Linked DNA regions of Homo sapiens: region 2 is linked to region 1. Evidence: promoter capture Hi-C in human tissues and cell types (Jung and others, 2019). All regions are on one chromosome and are shown on one strand. Each heading gives the region's core, a stretch centred on a gene start or on the middle of the fragment in contact. The rest is flanking DNA. Distances are from core to core; before and after follow the strand shown.

The links. Contacts are between HindIII fragments. The study calls those that stand out against the background at their distance.
Region 2: a contact is called between the fragment with the promoter of PHACTR4 here and the fragment with the promoter of EYA3 in region 1, in 1 of the 25 tissues and cell types used here (hippocampus).

Annotation. Positions count from the first base shown.
Region 1 is chr1:28,084,922-28,091,340 of GRCh38, forward strand. It overlaps EYA3 (EYA transcriptional coactivator and phosphatase 3), which reads right to left and starts at 3,689. Exons shown (of 18, transcript NM_001990.4): 1 at 3,603-3,689. RefSeq lists enhancers at 3,289-3,348, 3,559-3,628. The HindIII fragment of the contact is 16,525 bases long and covers 1-6,419 here.
Region 2 is chr1:28,367,826-28,374,059 of GRCh38, forward strand. PHACTR4 (phosphatase and actin regulator 4) reads left to right here and starts at 1,915. Exons shown (of 14, transcript NM_001048183.3): 1 at 1,915-2,000. RefSeq lists enhancers at 1,087-2,042, 1,693-1,987 and a silencer at 2,069-2,288. The HindIII fragment of the contact is 16,246 bases long and covers 1-6,234 here.

The DNA.
Region 1 (6,419 bases), core at 2,439-4,938:
TCTTCCTCCATTTAAATCATACATGAGCTAAAGTATCCTGTTGTTACATGCAGAACAGAAATATCTTTTGGACAAACCGCTACCTAAAAAGAAGTTCCATGAGGCTTTTATTTATAATCAAAACAAAATAAATGAAGTCATGAAACAGCTTAGGCACAGCACAGAAACCATAATGCTACAAGGTACAAGTGACAAGGACTTGTTGGAGGTATACTTTGTTTCTTAAATTTTCAAAACTACATCAGCCGCCTGTGGGTGGTGGCTCACACCTTTAATCTCAGCACTTTGAGAGCCCGAGGCAGGCAGATTGCTTGAGTCCAGGAGTTTGAGATCAGCCTGGGCAACATGGTGAAACTCTGCCTCTCCAAAAAAATTTCAAAATTAGCCAGGTATGGTGGCATGAACCTGTAGTCCCAGCTATTCTGGAGGCTGTGGGAGGATGACTTCAGCCCAGGAGGTCAGGGCTGCAGTGAGCCGAGATCGTGCCACTGCACTACAGCCTGGCCAACAGAGCAAGGTTTTGTTTTGTTTTTTGTCTCAAAAAAACAAACAAACAAACAAAAAACTACATCTCCGTAAACACAGGATTCAAGGACCAAAAAACAAACAAACAAAACAAGTAAGACAAAGTACATTAGCAAATAAAATGACAAAAAAGAACCAAAAATAATCAAACCAAACCAAAATAAGAAAACTTGGTAAGCCTAAAACTAATATGCAGAAACATATTTTAAATTGAGCCCTTAGGGCTACCAACTAAAGTAGAAATTTTTGTAGAAAATCAACGGTAATTTTTTTTCCTGAGCTTTAAAAACAAACACACATTAAGCTGTCTCTGGGTTTGTTTGTTTGTTTGTTTGTTTGTTTTGGTTTGGCAGCTAGGTGGAGGGTCAGGCTTGAAGATCAGCAGCATGGAACACAACTGCTCCAATGACTACACAGGATGCTCATTTCATTTAATGGCTTCAATGCAGAATATACAGGCCAAAGTCATTTTAGAAGAACAAAAGACTCCTAAAACTTTTCAACTTCTACTTCTGCACAAAACAGTTTCTTTCTCTAGTCACTCTTTGAAGGCAAAATGACTTCGGCTTTGGATTTTAAAATCCATGTCACAGATTTCTTATCCTAATAGTCTCATTCATATATGACATATACTGAAATGACCCACTAAATACTATATTGTGCTTTCCAGCCTACAGCTTTAATGGAATTAACACTCGCTACTCTTGAGAGCATGTATAGGACTTCTTGACTTAAAAAAAAATGACCTTGGAAATTAACTGTTTAAGTTGTAATTTCTTTTTTTTTTTTAAGAGAGTCTCACTCTGTTGCCTTGTGGAGCGCAGTGATGTGATCACAGCTCACTGTAACCTCAAAATCTTGGGCTCAAGCAATCCTCCAACCTCAACCTCCTGAGTAGTTGGGACTACAGGCGCACACCACTACACCAAGCTAATTTTGTCTATGTTGCCCAGGTTGGTCTCGAACTCCTGGCCAATCCTCTGGCCTTGGCCTTCCAAAGTGCTGGGGATTATAGGTGTGAACCACCATGCCAGACCTAAACCCTAATTTCTTTATGTTTTGTAAATAAGAGTGCCACTTCTTACTAGTGACAATGGTATATAATCTTTATAACTAGATTTTATTATTTTCTATTGTTTTGAAGACAGAGTGATTTCCCATCATTTTTGGGGTTTAATGTTCTTATCTTAATCTGCATTAATTAAGCTGGCATTCCCATGGCTTAAATGAAGCCCACAAACCTGAAGGTAAGGAAGCAGCTGGAGTAAGCCATACACATTGGGGTTTGTTTTGAAGGATGGAAAATAGGCCAGGTTGGACAGAAGCTAGAGCTAGGTAGTGGGGAGGAGGTACACATAAGAAACTTTCAAAGAGGCTTCACTTAGCAGTTAGATAAGTCCTGAAAGCCAATCAGAAGGGTCCTTCTCCGTGGCTTCTAGGACTAACATGGCCAAGCTCCAAAGTCCTTTGCTAAAAACAGCTGAAGAGAGCCCAATTTTGGAATAAGCCAAGGACTATACACTCTTATATGTATATGTATCATATAATGAAGATTTTTCTATAGCTAATTAGCCAAAAGATAAGCAGGTGCTCAAAGCTGTATTTAAGTTCATACTGAAGTACTACATTTTAAAGCACAATTTATAGATTACAGAAACTGATGACACAAAAACCGCTGCAATCAAGTGCTAGATATACACTATAAACATCGGGAAAAAATAAAGATTACCCAAGCCTATACTCTAGATCACAAAATTTGGGAAAGGGAGCACTAACCATTATTAAATGCAATTCCTTCATGTTATAAATGACTTTAAACCTCTAGGGAAATTTAAGAAAGGTGCCCTAAATCTCAAAATGAGAAAATGATAGTTTTACTACAAAGGTGGAAATGGTAAGGAAAAAAAAATACAAAAGTTAGAAGAATATTCTAAGTAATGTACTTCTAAGTAATGTAATTCTAAGTAAAGTCTGGCTAATGAAGGAAGAGGAAGACAAATAGAAAACTTAATACAGTAAAAATGAAAAAATGCATATGTGCATACTAAGTTTAAAGATTACTTTGAAATTACTATAGTGAACTCTTCAGCAGACCACTTTTCGGAAACAACACAATAAATTCATAAATCTGGGGCTAATGATCTCTCCACAAATTCTGTCCTCTATCATCACAAGTGTCCTGTAAGAAGCGTCCATGCCGAAAACAGAGCTGAACGTCCCAAAATATTGGCGTTTTTGCCTCAGCTGTGCACATCCATTCTCATGGGAACACAAAACTGACAGAACTTCTTCATGACTTGTCAATTAACAAGATCGCGCCAGCCCAACTGCTAGCAGTACCGTGTGCCTGCCACCTGTTAGCTGCTCTTGAGAGAGCCCCAAAACTGAGGTAAAGCGAAGAACTAGGAACGCCTTTGTTGTACCCTAACTATGGAAGCTACCAGAGTTCAGTCTAACCCGGCGCCTTAAGGCAAAACTTCCCCCAGGCTGGGGAAGTCTTCCCATTTCGGGGCTTTGGCAAAGCTCTCCTCTAGCTAAGGACAGGCAGAAGAACCCCAGGAGAAGCACTGTCACCTACTGGTCCCAGGAGGAAGGATCAAAGCTGAAGAAAGTTGGGGGACAAGGAACTAGGACCCTAGGGAGAGGCTCAGTTTCTCGTGGTGAAGAGTGAGCACAATGAGAAGCTGGGCCGTCTCGCTAGGTGAAAGAACGCTGAGATCCCAGATCAGGGGTAGGGGAAAAGAGGTTCTAAAAGAAGGGAGGAGGAGAAAAAAGGAGAGGCAGTGGCTGAGAGAAGCGCTGAGGCGTAAGGCAAGAAACCGAGGTTGGAAAAGGACTGATGAGGCTGAGGAAAAACAGCGAGGCGACAGAGGCACGGAAGCGCGAGAAGGCTAAGCTGAGGTGAATAAGGCGAGGCCAGCGTGAAGGAAAGGGCTGAGGTGAGTGAAGCACTGCAGTGACAAGGGACAGGCGAAGAGACTCCCACCCACAAGGACCGAGGCAGAACTCTAGACCCATCCCCCTTCACGCTGTGCTCGCCCGGCTGCGCTCAGACCCTGTTGGCAGCTGAGACTCACCCAAAGGCTGTAAAAGCCCCACAACAGGACATGGAGATCAGTCCAGACCCACAGTAGAACCAATCGAGCGGAGGAAACCGCGGCGTTAGCGTGACCCGGATGCGCATCGCTAGGAACCGGAAGTAAGCGGCCAGAGTCACCTCACAATCCACACCTCGTTCCACTAGAAACCTCTGGGCGCATGTGTTGAGTCTGACCGGGCGGGGAAGCTTTTAGGCTCCGCCCACTCCGCCGGCCCGGCGAGCCACGCCCATGGCCACGCCCCTCTTAGTGCCTCGGAGACAAGCAGCTTCTGGGTGAGCGCTAGGCAGTCCTGACGGTACTACAGCCTTCACTTTTAAGGAGGTCTTTAAAAATGCGCGTAATCCCTACCTGGCTAAAAGGAACGTAAGAAGTGTTGGGTGCATTTGGTAGATTTAGAAAAACTGGGAAGGAGAATGAGTGGGAAGTTTTGGAAGACATTTGGGAGGCTAGCCCAAGGTGATCTTTTTTTTTTTTTTTTTTTGAGACGGAGTTTCGCTCTTGTTGCCCAGGCTGGAGTGCAATGGCGCGATCTCGGCTCACTGCAACCTCCGCCTCCCGGGTTCAAGCGATCCTCCTGCCTCAGCCTTTCGAGTAGCTGGGATTACAGGCATGTGCCACCACGCCCGGCTAATTTTGTAGTTTTAGTAGAGACGGGGTTTCTCCATGTTGGTCAGGCTGGTCTTGAACTCCCGACCTCAGGTGATCCGCCCGCCTGGGCCTCCCAAAGTGCTGAGATTACAGGCGTGAGCCACCGCGCCCATCCCTTTTTTTTTTTCTTTTTTTGAGACAGAGTCTTGCTCTGTCGCCCAGGCTGGAGTGCAGTGGCGCGATCTCGGCTCACTGCAACCCCCGCCTCCTGGGTTCAAGTGATCCTCCCACCTCAGCCTCCCGAGTAGCTAAGACTACCGGCGCGCACCACCACGCCCGGCTAATTTTTGTATTTTTCGGTAGAGACGGGGTTTCGCCATGTTGCCCAGGCTGGTCTCCAACTCTGGAGCTCGGTTGATCCCTTGGCCTCCCAAAGTGCTGGGATTACAGGCGTGAGCCCCAAGGTGATCTTTTTATCCCCAAATTTAGTTTATTCTTAATATTATATTAGGCTTACAATTCACTTCGTGCACACTGTTTTCGGAAGCAAAATTCTTAAATGTTTCGTTAATTTTAAATTACAACCCAAGTATGGGCTAGAAGCAAGGTTGAATTCAGGCTTTGTGGAGACTTGACGTTTATTCAATTTGGGGGCCCTCTTTAAAATAATCAAGGCCAGGCACAGTGGCTCATGCCTGAAATCCTAGCACTTTGGGACGCCGAGGTCGACCGGTTGCTTGAGCCCCGGAGTTGGAGATCACCTGGGCAACAAAATTAGACCCTGTCTCTACAAAACAAACAAAGCAAAACAACAACAAAAAAAACCCAGAAAAATTAGCCAGGTGTGGTGGCACGCACCTAACTGAGCCCAGGAGGTAGAGGCTGCGGTGAGTTATGATTATGCCACTGCACTCCAGCCTGGGCAACAGAGCGAGACTGTCTAAAAAAAAAAAAAATCCAAAATTACAAATACAATATTAGATATAAAAGTGAACCTTTTATAATGAGAAAAATTACAAACATTTTTATTAGCTCACAAATACCACGAATAACAAAATCCAGAAAAAAAACTATTTTTTCTACATTTTTTGACTGTATATTTGATCACCTCTTCCGATGACAACAATGTACTAAGCAACATCATTTACTAAGATCCTTAACTCCTCTCTCATATCCCACATGTACTCCATCAGCAAGTTCTGCAAGATTTGCCTTCAAAATCTGTCCAGAACCTGACCATTTACTGCCTCCGTTGGTATAAACCAGTCAGTCAGTGACTGTGAGTGCCCTATTTATACTCTTGCCTTCCCACAATCTTTTTTTTTTTTTTTTTTTCAGACAGAGCCTCCCTCTGTCACCCAGGCTGGAGTGTACTGGCCTGATCTTGGCTCAGTGCAACCTCTGCCTCCTGGGTTCTCCTGCCTCAGCCTCCTGAATAGCTGGGATTACAGGGGCCCGCCAGCACGCGCGGCTAATTGTTATATTTTTAGTAGAGACGGGGTTTTGCCATGTTGGCCAGACTGGTCTTGAACTCCTGGCCTCAAGTGATCCACCCGCCTCAGCCTCCCAAAGTGCTGGGATTACAGGTGTGAGCCTCCACGCCCGGCCCCCACAATCTATTAATATAGTAGCAATGGGCTCCTGTTAAAACCCTAATTAGATCATATCCTTCCTCCAATGCATTCCTATTTCAGAGTAAAAACCAAAATCCTTACATTGGTCTACAGGACCCTCAAGATTTGACACCTCCAGTACAGCTCTGCTCTAACCTCAACTCCTACTCCTTCTGTCATCCTTCCCCTTAAAGCACATTGGCCTCTGCCATTCCTCAAAACTACAGGTAGGCCCAGGGCCTTTGTGCTTTTTAATCCATCTGCCTGGAGTGCTCTTCCCCCAGATACCTGCATCATTCATCCGCTCACCTCATTTACATCTTTATTCACATGTCACTTTCTCAATGAGATCTTCCCTGACACTACATTAAAAATTGGAACACTACCATCCTCTTTGTACTTTCCCATCCAACAAGTTGCTTGTAAATTTGGCTTAGTGTCTCTCTCCCCCTGCCAGAATGTAAGTTCCATGAGTCCATGGATGTTTGTCCGATTTGTTCACGGATGTTTTTTCAGCACCAGAATGGAGCCTGGCACACTGTAGGCACTCAGTAAATGTTTGTTGAATGAAGGGCTAAATTGCTCATTTACT
Region 2 (6,234 bases), core at 665-3,164, 280 kb after region 1:
ATAAATTTTTGTATTTTTTTTTTTTAAGACGGGATCTCGCTCTGTTGCCCAGGCTGGAGTGCAGTGGCGCGATCTCAGATCACTGCAAGCTCTGCCTCCCGGGTTCACGCCATTCTCCTGCCTCAGCCTCCCGAGTTGCTGGGACTACACGCGCCCTCCACCACGCCCGGCTAATTTTTTGTATTTTTAGTAGAGACAGGGTTTCATTGCGTTAGCCAGGATGGTCTCGATATCCTGACCTCGTGACCCGCCCGCCTCAGCCTCCCAAAGTGCTGGGATTACAAGTGTGAGCCACCGTGCCCGGCCAATTTTTGTATTTTTAGTAGAGATGTGGTTTCACCATTTTGGAGAGGCTGGTCTCGAACTCCTGACCTCAGGTGATCTACCAGCCTCAACCTCACAAAGTGCTGGGATTACAGGCGTGAGCCACCGTGCCAGGCCAATAAATATATTTTAAATATTTTTTTGAGACAAGGTCTCCCTCTGTCGTCCAGGCTGGAGTGTAGCGACACCATCACAGCTCATTGCAGCCTGGACCTCCCCAGCTCAAATAATCCTCCTATTTCAGCCTCCTGAGTACCTGGGACTACAGGCACGTTCCATCATGCCCAGCTAATTTTTAAAATTGTTTTTGTAGAGATGGGGCCTCACTCTGTTGCCCAGGCTGGCAGGCTGGTCTCAAACTCCAGGGCTCAAGGGATCCTCCCGCCTTAGCCTCCCAAAGTGCTGGGATGAGAGGTGTGAGCCACTGCACCCGGCCAATTTTTTTTTCTTCTTTTTTCTTTTTCTATTGAGACAGGGTCTTGCTCTGCTGCCCAGGCTGGAGTGCACTGGTGCGATCTCGACCCCCCAGGCTCAAGTGATCATCTCACCTCAGCCTCCCACGTAGCTGGGACTACAGGAGCTTGGCACTAGGCCCCGGATAATTTGTTTGTTTGTTTGTTTGTTTGTTTTGCGACGGAGTCTTGCTCTGTCGCCCAGGCTGGACTGCAATGGCAAGATCTCGGCTCACTGCAACCTCCGCCTCCTGGGTTCAAGCGATTCTCCTGCCTCAGCCTCCTGAGTAGCTGGGATTACAGGCATGCGCCACCGCGCCTGGCCAATTTTTTTAATTTTATGGATAGTGTATTTGAAAAGTCACATCGATTTTTCTCCTGGAATGTCCTCTAGATGTGCCGTAGCTTCAAGTTTTACATGTAGGTCTAATTTAGGTTGTGTGATACAATGGGTTTGCATTTAGAAGGGTCCTCTGGCAGCAGCAAGGAAGGTTTTCGGAGGGTGATAGCCTAGGGCCTGAAACTACTGAGACTTGGAGAGAAGTGATGGTGGCTTTCACTAGGTGATAGTAGTGAAGGATATCGAAATGAATTAAAATACTGGGGATGTAGAATGACTGGACTTAATGGCTTGAGGGAAGTGTCCAGAATGATTCCTGGGTTTCTTACGCACAACACTGAGGGTAGATAACTTGCTTGTACGTTTTTTGCACTTCAAATTGGTCCTCAATAAATAGTTTTTCCTTTGGGGAGGTTATGATTGAAATTTGGCCAGTCAGGGATACAGTTTTCTCAAACAACACTCTTGTATCAGTTCCCTTTTTGGGTACTGCCTGGAGCCCAGTATTGAACCCTGTCCTCCCAAGCCCAAAGACCTTTGCCTCCCATAGTACCAGGAAAGGTGCCCAAGTTCTTTTACACACAAGGTGCGCAGAGCGGCCAGCGCATGCCCAGAGAGGTCGTAAGGAGGACGACCGCCCGGAGAGAAAGGACGCACGCTTCCCGCCATTTTGTTCAGCTTGCCGGGCAACCGGCCCCTGCTGGGGACTACAAGTCCCGTAAGCCTCCGCGGCGGCACGTCCTACCCTACACTGTCCAGCCGGCTCCCTTTTTCCCCCTCCCCGGGGGCCAAGGGCTCCGGCTGCTGCCTGGCGGCCAACGGGCCAGGTAGGATTTCCGGGAGAGGCTGCTGTGGAGGCTGAGGAGGCGGCGGCGGAGATCTGGGTAAGTTCAGCGAGCAAGGGAAAGTGAGCAGGACGCGCTCAGTATCAGGCTGCGGCCTCCTCTCAGGCTGCGGCCCCTTTCTTGGCTCTGCGAGAGGGTCCCGGTCCGGGCAGAAGGTAACGGCCCGGGTCGCCGTCGCTTCGGGCCAGGGCGGGGCGGGGCCGCCGCCTCCCTCCTCGGCCCTCCCACAACGGTCCAACCCGGGCTTCTCCGCCTGAGGCAGGGCCCGCGCAGGCTCGCCCTCTCCGCCCCCCGAGACTTGGCTGGGCCCTTTTGTCTGGGCTGCGTTGCTCCCCCTTTGTGTCCGTGCATGGAGTCTCCGCCACGGGGGAGCCTGTTCCCCCGGTCCCCAACAGGGACTGCTCCCTGGGGATCCGGTTACAGTAACCGGATCGGGTCAAAGTACATTTTTCAAAACCGTCCTGCCTCAGACCTCTGCACCCCTGCTGGGCAGAACGGGGGCTTCGGAGCCAGGCGGAGTTTCTGTAAAAACCTGGAGGTTATTATTTAACTTTCAAACATCAGCCTGGGCGGCTTCAGGGCACGAAACTCCCGACGTTTTTCTTGGTGGAGAGATGAGATTAAGGAAAAGAAGCGACCCCTCTCTCCCACCCTCTACACCCCGGCTCCGGGAAACCGGGAAGGCATCGAATTTGCTGCGATGTCTGTGCAGCTCACATCTGTGATCGGTGGACCAAAGAACCAGTGGTGAATGGTAGAATGGCAGTTCACGCACCTCCCAAATCTCGGAGGAGAGTGACTTACAGGGCATCACTGATTGCTTGCAAAAAAAAAAAACCCTCCAGTGCTTCATTCGGACACTCAGCTCCTCGCTCCTTCCAACCTCTTCCTTTTCTTGTTCTTTTTAAAACAAACAGTGGAAGGAAAAAGTCCTTCAGTGGAAGAATTTGCTTTATAGAGGAACCAGAAACCCAGTGGCTTCTAGAAGTCACTTACTTTTTCGCCAAATTAAAGAAATGAATTTCGGGCGTGGTGGCGCGCGCCTGTAATGCCAACTATTCTGGAGGCTGAGGCAGGAGAATCGCTTGAGGCCAGAAGTTCGCGACCAGCCTGGGCAACACAGCAAGACCCCATCTTAAAAAAAAAAGGAATGAAGCCCGTTTAGAAATGAAGCCAGTTTAGGGGATGAGGTGTGGTAGATTCTTACCGGAAACCGCGGAACTGCGTGGATTGTGGATTCGATCAAATTTGGCTAGATAATGGTAACTGTGTATGTCCTCCTGTTGGAAGACTGCATTGCTAGAATCAGCTTAAGGTAAAATTTGTTTGTTTGTTTCATTTAAGAGACAAGAGTCTAGCTTGGTTGCTGAAGCTTGAGTACAGTGGAGAGCTCCTAGTTCACTGTAGCCTCGAACTTCTTGGCTTAAGCCATCCTTCCACCAGAGGCTCCCAGATGCCTGGGACTAGAGGCATGAGCCACTGTGCCCGACTATTTAATTTAATTTATTTATATTTATTTATTTATTTTGAGACAATCTCACTTTGTTACCCAGGCTGGAATGCAATGGCACGATCTTGGCTCACTGCAACCTCCACTTCCCAGGTTGAAGCGATTCTCCTGCCTCAGCCTCCTGAGTAGCTGGGATTACAGGTGTGTGCCACCATGCCCAGCTAGTTTTTGTATTTTTGGTAGAAACAAGGTTTCACCATGTTAGCCAGGCTGGCCTTGAACTCCTAACCTCAGGTGATCCACCCGCCTCGGTCTCCCAAAGTGCTGGGATTACAAGCGTGAGCCACCGTGCCTGGCCAATTTTTATGTATTTATTTTTTGAAATAGGGTCTCGCTGGGTTTCCCAGGCTGGAGTGCAGTGAGTTGAGCACTGCTCACTGCAGCCTGGACCTCCTCCTGGGCTCAAGCCTCTGCCTCCAGAGTAGCTGGGACAACAGACACAGGCCACCAGCGCAGCTAATTAAAAAAATTTTTAAAAAAATTTTTGTATTGATTGGGGTCCCACTCTGTTGCCCAGGCTGGTCTTGGACTCCTGGGCTCAAGTGATCCTCCCTCCCAAAGTGCTGGTATTAAACCTTAAGATAAAGAATACTGTATTTGTTTTTTGAGATAGAGTCTTGCTCTGTTGCTCAGGCTGTGCAGTGGCGTGATCTTGGCTCACTGCAACCTCTTCCTCCTGGTTTCAAGCGATTCTCCTGCCTCAGCCTCCCGAGTAGCTGGAATTACAGGCATGTGCCACCACTCCCGGCTAATTTTTTTTTTTTTTTTAGTAGAGATGGTGTTTCACCGTGTTGGCCAGGCTGGTCTGGAACTCCTGACCTAAAGTAATTTACCTGCCTCCGCCTCCCAAAGTGCTGGGATTACAGGTGTGAGCCACCGTGCCTGGCCAATAAAAAATTCTAAAGAAGGTCATTGCAAATAACCCTTTTGAAAAATAGGTTAATTCGTGTTTCAAGTCTCTGGGATGAGGACAGCCAGGAGGACCCCTTTACATGAATCAGGGAAGGTTACTGAAGTTAGATAGGTTAATTCCTGCCCTAGCCGAGTAGGCAAAATAAAGCCCTTCACCCTGTATTACTTTGTTTGATATCTCATAATGGAAGTGACTTACTCTTGAGAATCCTAGATTGTATTAGTAATACTGTATAGGGATGGTAGATCCTTAATGCAGTTCTTCAATTTTTAATCCAGCAGTGAGTGAGGGTCTTTTGTGTTTTCCTGGCTATAGTTTGAAGAAGCAACCACAGAATTGCTCTAGTTTTAATAATAAACTGGTTGGGCGCGGTGGCTCACACCTGTAATCCCAGCACTTTGGGAGGCTGAGGCAGGCAGATCACCTAAGGTCAGGTGTTCGAGATCAGCCTGGCCAACATGGTAAAATCCCATCTCTACTAAAAATATAAAAATTAGCCAGGTGTGGTGGTGGGCATCTGTAATCCCAGCTACTTGGGAGGCTGAGGCAGGAGAATCACTTGAACCTGGGAGGCGGAGGTTACAGCGAGCTGAGATTGCGCCACTGCACTCCAGCCTGGGCGACAGAGGGAGACTCAGTCTCAAAAAAAAAAAAAAACACAGAAATAATAAACTAAGAAACAGCAGTTACTATTGACTATTGCTTAATTGTACAAACATGACAATTTTCTCAATATTATTTATTTTTATGATTATTATTATTTTTTTGAGGCAAGGTCTTGTTCTGTCCCCCAGGTGGAGTAAAATGCTATGATCATGGCCCACTGTAGCCTCAACCTCTTGGGCTCAAATGATCCTCCCACTTCAGCCTTCTGAGTAGCTGGGACTACAGGTGCACACTACCACACTTGGCTAATTTTTTAATTTTTTTGTGGACACGAGGTCTCCCTGTGTTGCCCAGGATGGTCTTGAACTCCTGGACTCAAGCAGTCCTCCTACCTTAGCCTCCGAGAGTGCTGGGATTATAGGCGTGAGCCAGTGTGTCTAGCTATATATTTATTCATTTATTTTGTTTGTTTTAAACATAATTTTTTTTTTTGAGATGGAGTTTCACTCTTTTTGCCCAGGCTGAAGTGCAATGGCACGATCTTGGCTCACTGCAACCTCTGCCTCCCGGGTTTAAGTGATTCTTCTGCCTCAGCCTCCTGAGTAGCTGGGATTACAGGCATGTGCCAACATGCCTGGCTAATTTTGTATTTTTAGTAGAGACGGGAATTCACCATGTTGGCCAGACTGGTCTTGAACTCCTGACCTCAGATGATCCGCCCACCTCAGCCTCCCAAAGTTCTGGGATTACAGGCGTCAGCCATCACGCCTGGCCCATAATTTTATAATTTTTATAGAGACAGGTCTCGCCATGTTGCCCAGCCTGGTCTCAAATTCCTTGGCTCAGGCGATCCTCTCACCTCAGCCTCCCAAAGTGCTGGGATTACAGGCATGAGTCACCATGCCCGGCCTCCCAGTACCATTTTTTAAACAAATTAATACACATTGTGTCATTTAATCCTCACTACAGTTCTGTGAGATGGTTGTTACTCTCATTTTACAGCTGATAAAGCCTAGCCTCTAAAATGTTGAAGTGACTTGCCCAAGGTTATAGTTAACCCAGGTAGGAAATATCAGAGTAAACCATACTTCAAATCTAGTCCTCTTTCAGTTACCTCACACTTATTACAGCTACTAATCTTAGCAGCACCAACAGCTTTAATTTGCTAAAATCTAAATATTGGAGAAAATGGAAAATATTTTCCAATTAAGGCAAATTGATTTACAAGGAACTGGAATTTCTGG